Regions from separate parts of the Homo sapiens genome. Here region 1 is linked to region 2. The links are contacts of gene promoters, found by promoter capture Hi-C in blood cells and fetal thymus (Javierre and others, 2016). All regions are on one chromosome and are shown on one strand. The core of a region is centred on a gene start or on the middle of the fragment in contact, and the rest is flanking DNA. Distances in the headings are between cores, read along the strand shown. Region 1 overlaps ARHGAP18 (Rho GTPase activating protein 18). Region 2 holds the start of NCOA7-AS1 (NCOA7 antisense RNA 1).

The links. The method cuts DNA at HindIII sites, captures the fragments that hold promoters and counts their contacts. A CHiCAGO score of 5 or more calls a contact.
Region 1: a contact is called between a fragment that was not itself captured here and the fragment with the promoter of NCOA7-AS1 in region 2, in 1 of 17 cell types (M0 macrophages). The highest score is 6.0, in M0 macrophages.

Annotation. Positions count from the first base shown.
Region 1 is chr6:129,679,463-129,682,666 of GRCh38, forward strand. The region is part of intron 1 of ARHGAP18 (Rho GTPase activating protein 18); the gene reads right to left. Among named protein-coding and RNA genes, the nearest start is that of ARHGAP18, 29 kb to the right of the region's middle. The HindIII fragment of the contact is 6,181 bases long and covers 1-3,204 here.
Region 2 is chr6:125,817,337-125,820,243 of GRCh38, forward strand. It overlaps NCOA7-AS1 (NCOA7 antisense RNA 1), which reads right to left and starts at 1,522. Exons shown (of 3, transcript NR_126386.1): 1 at 1,474-1,522. The region is part of intron 2 of NCOA7 (nuclear receptor coactivator 7); the gene reads left to right. RefSeq lists an enhancer at 747-1,248. The HindIII fragment of the contact is 4,548 bases long and covers 1-2,907 here.

The DNA.
Region 1 (3,204 bases), core at 270-2,769, 3.9 Mb after region 2:
TTGAGAACCTACTACATGCCAAGTAATGTGGATACAATTATACACAAGCCAAACACGATCCCAGATTTATAGTTATGTTGGGAATACAGACAAACACACATGACACGATTAGAGGGCTGCTTTTGGAAAGTTAATCTGACCATCAGAATTCAACTAAGCCTGGCTTGTAGTAAAAGCTGATATTACATGTAAGTAAACAACAGGGTGTTCTTTCATGAAAATTAAGTTTGGTGGTAGGGTCCTCCTGAACAAGTTGCTTTCCATTTCGTTTTTATTTCTCTTCCCTCCTGCATTGGTTTCATGTGGCTGCTATAACAAATTACCAAAATTTGGTGGCTTAAAACAAATGAAATCTATTCTCTAAAAGTCTGGAGACTAGAAATTTAAAAGCAGGATCACTGGGCTGAAATCCTGGTGTCAGCAAGGCAGCACTCCCTCCGAAGCCTCTAGGGATCCAGTCCTTGCCTCTTCCAGTGTCTATCTGGCAGTACCAGCATTTCCTTGCCGTGGCCACATGACTTCAATCTCCGCCTCCATCTTTACATGCTTCTCCTCTGCATATCAAATCTCCCTCTGCCACCTAAAAGGATACTTGTAATTGCATTTAGGACCCAACTGGATAATCCAGGATAATTTCCCATCTCAAGATCTTAACTTAATCACATCTGCAAAGACCCTTTTTCCAAATAAGTTCACATTCACAACTTCTGTGAATTAGGACCTTTTTAAAAATTTTTGGAAGCCACTATCAGACAATCATACCTACACAGAAAGCCTAAGAATGAAAAAGGGTAATAAGAAAAAAAATACAAATTTACTAAGCCAGAGCATTTACAGTTCTGCTCCAAACATATCTGAAGAGTTTTTCTGCTTCTGAATAGGTCCCCAAAAGCAAGGTTCTCTACTCCTAAGTTATTTAAGGCGTTTAAGGTGAGAATTTAATTAAATTATACTGGGAAGTACCATACAAATTAAAACTAATATTATACCTCTTTTCTCCCCCTCTCCTTCCTCCTCAATAATAACCTCAAATTTCCTTTCGAACAGCTCCTGTAACTTTTACTGACCCATTTCAGAACTCTGGCTTGACACTGCACTGTATTAATCCTGGGAGAAAGAGCCCAAGAAAGCTCAGCAAGCAGCCCCCTACACAGGGCCAGTTCTCAGGAGCCTTTAGGATCAGAGGTAAATCTGGGCAAGGCCGAAGCCTGGTCTGGTGGTACCCTGGAGCCAGATCGTTTCCAGAACTGGAAGAGTAACATGGCATTCATCCAGGGGACATGCTCCTTATAGTTGCTTTTCCTTAACTGAAAAAGGAATTCTTGGCTAGAGAGCCTAAAAGCCTAAAGGCAAAATTATATGGATAACCCAGAGAGTATGTATGGACCTCAGGGCTCCAAGGAAAACAGTGAGGAGGCATTATGACTTTGTACTTCAGCAATGACAGCAGTGGAGGATGGGCCAAATCTCTGCCTTCCCGATAAACCCTTTGAGTAGAACTGTAACACAGCCCACCATAATCCTGACTCGCCTCCTTCTCTAGTTTCCTGGACATGGAGAATTGCTGCCATTCTAGAATCCACTTGCCAAGATCCTTAATCAGAAGTTTTTTTTGCTGTTGTTGTTGTTTTTTGAGACGAAGTCTTACTCTGTTGCCCAAGCTGGAGTGCAGTAGCACAATCGCGGCTCACTGTAACCTCCACCTCCCGAGTTCAAGTGATTCTCCTGCCTCAGCCTCCTGAGTAGCTGGGACTACAGGCACGCACTGCCATGTCCAGCTAATTTTTGTATTTTTGGTAGAGACAGGGTTTTACTATGTTGGCCAGGCTCGTCTTGAACTCCTAACCTCGTGATCCGCCTGCCTCGGCCTCCCAAAGTGCTGGGATTACAGGCGTGAGCCACCGCGCCCAGCTAGAAGTATTTCTTAACATTGTTAATACTTAACAGTGTCCTCCAAAAAAGAAAACATCCTGAGGTAGAAAACCTACATATAAATCAATAATTCAATGACTGCTTGTATATAAGCCCCATCTACTTTCTTCTCTCTCCAGATCTGAATTAGTATACAAATTCAATCTTCAGCCTCTTAAGCAAGAATAAAAATACCACATCATATACTATGATGCCATTACAAATATATTCCCATTTTATTTGAGCTATTAACTTTTTTTTGCTTGTATAAACAGAATAAATAATTCATTTCATGGCTTAAAACATAGCAACATGAAGGCAAATGCAAAATAAATAGCAAATCAAAATCCGTGAAATACTAGACAAGGGTTGTCTGATGTAGGGTAAGCACTGTGAGACAGTCCAAAGACAACACATTGCATTTCACTTTGTTTTCAAAGAACATGGTGACCAAGTTCACAGGTTAGGCAATCCATTATCCCTTCTTCTTCATTTATTGGCTTGCCTTCACCTAGCAGAAGTTTCAGGCAGCTACACAAAAAGTCTATTGTTTCCTCTCTGCTGTATCTCATCAAGTAATGTCCTTTCACTCCAGTGAAAAGCCTATACTCTTACTGAGCTCATCTTAGCTTATTAAATTTATAATTTAACAACTGTGCCAACACACTGTAATTACAGAATCATTATGTGGTTTTTACATACAATTATTTTTTAAAGGAAGGCTCACTGGAGATTCAGTTTATGAAAGCAGATATTACGTCAATCCCCTTCATACATACTGAAGAAAAGCTCCTTCACCTCCTACTACCCACCCTAACCCCCGGTTTTGGCTAAACCAAGGAAAGGACAATATTGGTGTCTGTTAAGTATGAAGACATGCCAGGGTCACAGAAGAAATAACTCCAGCTTTGGAACATAAAACAACCCACGCCTTTCTCTTTGCCAAGCCAGAATCCTGACATGACCACTTCTGAAGCCCCCTTGCCTCATTTCCCCGTGTTCTGAGGCTAGCTTCCCTCTCTGGCAGACCCCCAGAACAATACATGAGGTCTTACAGGCAAGTAGTCCTACAGATCCAAGAGGAATCAAAGCATAGCTGTCACCCACACAGGATGCAAATGGCATCTCCTCATGGACAACTGGGTGCCATTATCTGTAGATGGTTACTGAAACACAGACTTCTGACATTAGTGTTAGTCGAATTCTAAAGTTTGATCTGGTAAAAATAAACTAAAACCCTAGAGACACAAAGCAACATTCTTATGTCCCAAAGCATCATCACATAATTAGCAA
Region 2 (2,907 bases), core at 272-2,771:
GTGCAATACTCTTTTCTGGAATGGTTGTAACATTTGACATTCCCATCAGCAAAGTCTGAGTAATCCAGTTTGTCTGCATTGTCATTTGGTGGTGTCAATATTTTTTATTTTTATCTTAGCTATTCTGATAAGTATGTAGTGATATCTCATTATGGTTTTAATTTGTATTTCCTTAATGGTTAGTGAAGTTTAACATTTTCATGTGCTTATTATTAGCCATAGTGTATCTTCTTTAGTGGCATCTCCTTTCCTATCTTTTGCCCATTTTCTAATTGAATTGTTTAGGTTTTTACTGTTGAATTGTACACATTCTAGTCTTTTGTTGGATATGTGATTTGCAAATATTTTCTCCCGGACTGTAGTTTGTCTTTTCATCCAGTTAACAGAGTTGCAGAGCAAAAGGTTTTAATTTTGATGTGGTTCAATTTATCAGTTTCTCCTTTTATGAATTGTGCTTTTGGTCTGAATTCTAAGATCTCTTTGCCTAGCTGTATGTTCTGAAGATTCTCTCCTGTTTTTCTTTTCTGAAAATTTTATAGCATTATGTTTTATATTTAAGTCTGTGATCCATTTTGAATTTATTTGTGGATAAGATATGAGTTTAGGTCAAAATGGTGGTCATGCTTCTCCTCCCCTTCCTCCCCGTCTCCCTTCCTCACCTCCTCCCTTTCTTCCTGCTCCTCTTCCTGCTCCTCTTCCTCCTCTTCTTCCTCCTCCCCCTTCCCGCTTCTCCCCCTTCCTTCTTTCTCCCACCTCCTCCTTCCTCCTCCTCCTTACTTTCTTCTTCTTTCTTTTCTTTCTTCTTCACTTGCCCTACATAGTGATTTTAAGAGCTATAGTGCCTTCTCAGCCTGAATCCAAAGTGATTCCTGTAGTAAAGGTAACTGCCGGTTCATGAACAACCTGCTCAATGTTAACCTCTTCTTGTTCCTAAAATGTAGAGTCAGGGGAGCCCCTGAAACTGAGAATACAAACCAAAACTGTTCTGGAAGAGCAGCACAGTTTTTTCAACTCAGAAATGTAAAATTGTCTTGCTTATCATGACCTCTTCTGAAAAGTATTCTAAAAATGAAACAAAAAACGTATCCTAAAATGCTGAAATGTGATCTTGGGAGCATAGGGACAGTGGCACAAGGATGAAATCAGTGATGCTCTTAAGACAGTAAGACAACATGATTTGTAACTAGGAAATGAGAGAGATGGAGAGAGGAGAATGGAGAGAAGAGGGGGTAGGAGCAGGGAGAGAGAGAAAGAGACAGAGAGAGAAACACTGACTGACAAACCTGTAGTTTAGCTCTTACAATGCAGTGGAAGCCAGAAATGGTCAAGCTATTAAAAGCAAAAGGCAAACCAAAGAGAAAAGAACCCCCTTCAGCCTATAATCAGAAAAGAGCCATCCAAAGTTATACATCTTTTCAAATGCCTTCTGACTTAACTGTGGAATTACCATGTGGAACTAGCAACAGAACTTACTTGAAAGCTGGTTTCTGACAATGTAGAGCAGAGTTCTCTGGAGCAGCGTACTTAAGGGCAGTCCAAGCAAGATCTCTGGAGAGAAGGATAAAATGTCAGGCCAAGGGTGAGGCCAAACTGATGCAATCTCAGTTTTCTCTAAACTAAATTATACCACCTTACATAAATCTCAACTGGTGTTCTGAGGAAGTCAAAAGGAAGATTTACCCTGATGCTGTGCCTGCTGCCACAATTACATATCTGAAACCCTAAAAACTGCTTTTTAGCCTGCTTCCCCCTTCCACCTAGGAAAAACTAGGAACACCTAGTTTTTCCTCCTGAGTAGTTAAATAGCCAATGTTTTCTTTGTGTGCTATCTTATCATGTGGTTTCATAATCGTTGTGTGACTGTGTTTGATAAATAGTCCTTTGCCAAACCTGTTTTGTTGACGTTTCGCTCTTTAACATCAAAATAGAGTTTAAAATACCCTATTTTAATAATTTTGGATTGAAATTAGTGATTTGAGGGTCACCCAGTCTTTCCTTTCTTATAATTTATCTTGAAATATGCCTGTGTAACTCTAAATAGAGGGGTGGATTAATACTGCTACTAGATAGAGTAATTCTGGATAAGACCTGATGAATTTTTTGGATTTTCTGACCCTGGTCCAACTGGTTTTCAGGTGCTTCAGGATAGTTTTATAACAGTTGTTAAATCTAGATTGAATGATTTGTGAAACTTTTTCACAAATGGTTTTGCAAATAATTTATATATGCAAAATTAGTATATGTCTATATTAATTTCTTGATCCCTGACAGGTCTTGAAAACCAAATGAAAAACTGAATTACTAAAGCAAATTATACTTTCTGTACTATTTGTACTGTGTACAATTTATGCTATCCTCTGGGGTGACTATCATGTGTCATTTGTTACACCCCTGCTGACTCTTCCTTCCCCTTGTAGTTAGAATGCAAAATTTTCTTTAGTATTGCCATACAGGGCTGTCTTCTTACACACTTGCTTGACATTATTTGGCTTTTGTGATTTCCGAGTAGGTCCTTGTATGCCATTGGTTGAAGATTCTTTGAAAGCATTTTTTCAGGATCAAGCGTTGATTGAAGATATCCAAAATACATCTGTAGTTGAACCAAATGGTGTTTTGTGGGAGGTTTACTTTTCCCCTCTGATAAGGTGTGAGAGCCTGGGAGTAAACAGTGAGTAATATAGACGAAGACACAGACTGGGTGTTCATGTAGGTCCCTTGTTGGCTCCCACCTCCCCTATTCCCTGGTTGTCATGAAAAGCAGAACTGCTGCTCCCACCTCCGCTTTCCTCTTAACCCAGCCTTTCAGAGCAGCAGTAGGAGCCAGCACCACCTCTGTCATCATTCTCAGTGACAAAGGATGCAAAGTGTAGAACATTTCTTAGCTCCCATCTCCAGCCTCTGCCCTGG